2 separate regions of the Homo sapiens genome follow, and region 1 is linked to region 2. The links are contacts of gene promoters, found by promoter capture Hi-C in human tissues and cell types (Jung and others, 2019). All regions are on one chromosome and are shown on one strand. The core of a region is centred on a gene start or on the middle of the fragment in contact, and the rest is flanking DNA. Distances in the headings are between cores, read along the strand shown. Region 1 overlaps LOC124904625 (a long non-coding RNA gene). Region 2 holds the start of MBD3L3 (methyl-CpG binding domain protein 3 like 3).

Region 1 (2,700 bases), core at 181-2,680, 37 kb after region 2:
CACTCCAGCCTGGGCGACAGAGTGAGACTCCATCCCAAAAAAAAATAAAAATAAAAATCCATTCAGATAAGGGACTGGCAGAGAGAAAGCAGAATGTGGAATGGATGTGGAAGAATTAAATTCAGTCCTGAAGACCAGGTCCCAAAGCAGGAATAGAAGACAGCTATGCTTTGGGTTTGGGTTTTTTAAAAAATCTTTAATTTTTTCCGCTTTTTCCCTGGTTCCCCACCACCACCATCACCATTTTATATGAAGAGTCCTGGTTGTGGCCAAAGCTTAAGGTTTCTGATGGGAATACGACCAAATGACATTATCCCAACAGTAGCTTCCTTTGTATCTCTTTTTTTTTTTTTTTTTTTTTGAGATGGAGTCTCACTCTGTCACACAGGCTGGAGTGCAATGGTGCCATCTCTGCTCACTACAACCTCCGCCTCCTGGATTCAAGCGACTCTCCTGCTTCAGCCTCCCGAGTAGCTGGGACTACAGGCACACGCCAGCACACCCGGCTAATTTTTGTATTTTTAGTAGAGATGGGGTTTCACTATGTTGGCCAGGCTGGTCTTGAATTCTTGACCTTGTGATCCGCCCACCTCGGCCTCCCAAAGTGCTAGGATTACAGGCGGGAGCCACCGCGCCCGGCCCCCTTTGTATCTTATGTAGGGACATGAACTTAGCGCCAAGTGAAGGACAAGAATTGATATCCAAAATCCAATAGATTTTTCTTTTAAATACCTGAAAGTGAAACTGGCCCAATTTTCCCATATTGCTGATGTTTATGGTTTCCTTGAATAAACAAACAAATTGATCTTCCCAATCTTAAAACTTAAGAAAGTTACATTTATCTTATCTGAGTTCCTTTCTCAGGAAACCAACCATCAGGCCTCCCAGATAGTATCTAGGAGCTGAAACGCACCAGAATACTGCATTTGTACAGTGAGACATCAGACCCATCACCCATCATGATTGCCTAACTGACCACCTGCTTCCTGTTGACCAACTCCTCTTCCTTACCCTTCCCTAATTCCTGTATTCCCACACATGGTAACATTTCTTCCCTGCTATATAAACCTCAAATTTTAGTTGGTCAGGGAGATGGATTTGAGATTGTTCTCCCACCTCCTCAGCTGCAGCAGCTGATTAAAGCCTTCTTCCTTGGCAATACTCATTGTCTCAGCGATAGGCTTTCTGTGCAGTGGTGAGCAGCAGGACCTAGATTGAACCCCTGGTGTTTCAGCAACAACATAGTTCATCACCAGCAGAACTGCACTTCAAGAAACACTAAAGAAAGTTTTGGGCCAGACACGGTGGCTCACACCTGTAATCCCAGCATTTTGGGAGGCTGAGGCAGGTGGATCACCTGAGGTCAGGAGTTCGAGACAAGGCTGGCCAACATGGCAAAACCCCATCTCTGCTAAAACTACAAAAAAAAAAAAAAATTAGCTGGGCGTAGTGGCGGTCGCCTATAATCCCAGCTACTTGGGAGGCTGAGGCAGGAGAATTGCTTGAACCCAGGAGGTGGAGGTTGCAGTGAGCTGAGATCGCACCGTTGCTTTCCAGCCTGGGCGATGGAGCGAGACTCTGTCTCAAAAAAAAAAAAGAAGGAAGGAGGGAGGGAGGGAAGGAAGGAAGGAAGGAAGGAGAAGGAAAGAAAGAAGGAAAGTTTTGGGGCTGGAGGAAAATTATTCCATGTGGAAGCAATTCCAGAAATATATAAGGATAATCAGGAAAGATAAAATGTGAGCAAATACAAATAAATATTGACTGTATAAATCAAGCCTGTATAGTTTTAACACTTTTATACGTCTAAATCTTTTTTTTTTTTTCAGACGGAGTCTCACTCTGTTGCCCACACTCACCTCACTGCAACTTCCGCCTCCTGGGTTCAAGCAATTCTCTTGCCTCAGCCTCCAAGTAGCTGCAACTACAGGTGTGCACCACCACGCCCAGCTAATTTTTGTATTTTTAGTAGAGATGGGGTTTCGCCATGGTGACCAGGCTGGTCTCAAACTCCTGACCTCAAGTGATCCATCTGCCTTGGCCTCCCAAAAGTGTTAGGATTATAGGCGTGAGCCAACGTGCCCAGCCCTAATTTTTTTTTTTTTTCAAATAAAAAGAGTTTTAAATCACATTGAACTGGTCCCTTAAAACTAGAGATAATAGAAAGCATGGCAAGCCATTTCCCAGTCCCCCTAAGACTAGAGATTATGGAAGCCCCAGCAAGTGATTCTCACAATCTGCATACAGCAGTAGAGCTGACAGAAGCCCTAGCAGGTAACCACCAGTCACCCTCAAAACAAGAGGCAACAGGATGCCAGATCTCCACCCCTCAATCACTTACAAACACAAAAGATGGAGTCCAAACATGAAGACCTCCGTCATCGCGAAACTACTCCAGCAAGCACCCCTCAGTCACGTCCAAAACTATAACAGAAGTCCCTGAAATGACCCCTTCAGATGCCCCTCAACACTAAAGAATGGGGACTCCAAGCCCAATGGCCTACCCAGTCTATACCAACAGTACAGGCAAGCGGAGACCCAGAATATGACCCTCCCCAACTAGAGATAAGTGGAACCCCATCCAATAATCCCTCCATCCTCTCCCCAAACAATACACAGTAAGGCCTCTATCTGATAAATGCTCTTGACCCTTCAACACTAGAAAAAAATGGAAGCCCCAGGCACTGGCCCTCCAGTTACCTC
Region 2 (2,700 bases), core at 111-2,610:
CAGCTACACAGATGCTGGTGGTGCCTCCTAACCCATCCCCAACAGGACACCGGGATCCCAGACTTCCCTGTTCACCAAGACCTCACGCTTCTCTGTATCTCTTTCTGCTGTGCTTCAGGACACAACGTCATTTTCATAGCTCCTTGACTCTCTGGTTTCCAAAGAAATCCTGCACTCGCCACCTTAAATACTCACTGCCACACCCAGATCCCACCTTCACCTGAACACCTCCTGCTCATGAAGAAAAACCTCAGAAACACCATGTTGCTTTCTGTTTCTAATAAGCTCAATTAACTAGAGGTATACCATGAGAGAATCTTTTGATGACATACTGAGAAAGATGATCAAGCGCCTCCTAAGATTTGACGTCCTTTCTTGCTCTAACTCAATTGGAAGACTCTAGTCTCATAAAGCTGTTTCCCCCACAAACCTCATCAGTGCACTTTCCATTTTAAAGCCTTTGTTTCTGTCCTCCTCATTTCATTTTTCGTTGTCCTGGCATAAAGATTAATACTACCCCTTACAGTACCCCTGGCATAAAGATTAATACTGACCCAAGATGTTCCCCTTTGGAGGGAAAATTATTTAGTCCCCTTAGTTACGGGGCACTTATGATGTGCCAAGCTGTGCAGTAGAACCCCTGATCCAGAAGTAAACTTCATAAATCACCACTCTGTTGATTTTCATCTTGGTGAGAAGGAAGACATAATAAACGCACTAAAAACAAATTTCTGGTGGAATATCAGATATAAGTAAGTTCCATGATGAAGAAGAAGGGAGTGACAGAGAGGGATGGAAGGAGGAGAAACAGAGAAACAGAAAAGAAATTCACTACAATGAATCGTGACAGTGAGTTTAGGGAATAAGCAACTCATCATGAAATTTTACCAGAGAACTAATTTTTTTTGTTTTTTGTTTTTTTAAAAAAACGGACCAAGCAATTTCTGGTTCAGGAGCTTTCCAGAGAAGGAGACAATTTGAAGACTGCAAGGCCAAATCATACTTCTTCCCTTTCCTAGTGATGTTGGATTTTTAAAAAAAAATTCAAAGCTATTATCCCCATACAGTTTCATGGGCAAAAATGAGAATACTTTGAACATTATTCAACAGATATTACCACCTGAGGTATAACTTTCCACAACATCCAGTTTTAAGAACAACCCACTGCTAACTGTAAAGCTGTCTTACAGAAGGAAAAAGGACACATATGGACATTCCTGTAATCAATAAATATCCCGTACTCACCAGAACAGGTGGGCTCGGAAAAGAGGTGAACGCAGGCTCTCCCATAGCCGTAGAGTTTCTCTTGCTGACCCCACTCTTGAGATGCAGACAACCCTTGGCTTGCCGGAAAATGCAGTGACTTCTGCATCTGGTTCCCCTTTTTATAGAGAAAGCGAGTGATAATGCAATCAGTGGATAATCCACAGGGAACACCCTGTCTCCGCCCATTGGATTTGAGGCATTTCTAAATCTTTATACAGAAACCAATGTGGTGTTACCTACACAGAGTGTTAGTAGAGAAAGAATTGAATACGTGTGTATGTGTGTGTGGCGGGGTGGTATTTACAGTTAATATCAGCATTTTAGATATGTTTCCCTTTTTCTCCCAGTTTTCCAAACATCTTTGAATACTTTCTATAGAAATAGGAATGGAATTGTCTATGTACATAAATGTTCACGTAATATTTGATTTAATAACAACAACTAAAGACCATTTAAATGTTCTTTAAGAAAAGAAAGCCCAAAACTTTTATTCACAATCCTATAGAATATATCACACAGTTGTTGCAAAGAAATTACTACTTTGGCCGGGAGAGGTGGCTTACGCCTATAATCCCAGCACTTTGGGAGACCAAGGCAGGTAGATCACCTGAGGTCAAGAGTTCGAGACCAGCCTGGCCAACATGGTGAAACCCCATTTCTACTAAAAATACAAAACTTACCCTGGTGTGGTGGCATGCACCTGTAATCCCAGCTACTCGGGAGGCTGAGGCAGGAGAATCGCTTGAACCTGGGAGGGAGAGGTTGCGGTGAGCCGAGATCGCACCACTGCAGCTCAGCATGGGCGACAGAGTGAGACTCCATCTCAAAAAAAAAAAAAAAAAAAAGTTCTATTTCGTGCATTTACATTTAATATAATTACCAGTAAATTTGAAATTGTTTCAATCATCTCATTTTTCCTAGGTTTTGACTTAACTGACTCACGTTCCTTTTGCCTTTACTTGACTGACTTTGAATTAAATATGTTTATTATTTTATTGTTATCTCCATGAACTTGCTAGTTACAGCCATACAAATCTGTGTAGTTATGCTAATAATTAAATCATATACTCTGATACAATTAATTACTTTAACCCCTCCCACAAAATGCTAATACTTTAGAACACTTTTAATTCTCTTTTTAGCTGTTTCTGACTTTTGTATTACCATTCTCATGCATATTAATTCTACACATATTTTACTCTCCAGGAGACATTTCTAGTATTGCTTCATAAAGCAATATGCACTAATATTTACCTACAGCTTATCTTGTGCATTCATCTTTGTTCCTTTCTGCATTTCTAGCATTCAATCTGGGATTATTTCCCTGTGGACTTGAGAATTCATTCTAGTATTTTTCTTCTAATTCAATGCTGCTAACAACTAATTGTTTTCCTTTACACTTTTATTTAGGCATCTTTATTTGGGGGCAATATT

Evidence for each region. Contacts are between HindIII fragments. The study calls those that stand out against the background at their distance.
Region 1: a fragment that was not itself captured here is called in contact with the fragment with the promoter of MBD3L3 in region 2 in 2 of the 25 tissues and cell types used here (hippocampus and neural progenitor cells).

The regions. Positions count from the first base shown.
Region 1 is chr19:7,094,079-7,096,778 of GRCh38, forward strand. The region is part of intron 1 of LOC124904625 (a long non-coding RNA gene); the gene reads right to left. Among named protein-coding and RNA genes, the nearest start is that of ZNF557, 26 kb to the left of the region's middle. The HindIII fragment of the contact is 4,002 bases long and covers 1-2,700 here.
Region 2 is chr19:7,057,316-7,060,015 of GRCh38, forward strand. MBD3L3 (methyl-CpG binding domain protein 3 like 3) reads right to left here and starts at 1,361. Exons shown (of 2, transcript NM_001164425.4): 1 at 1,246-1,361. The coding sequence starts at 1,290. The HindIII fragment of the contact is 21,543 bases long and covers 1-2,700 here.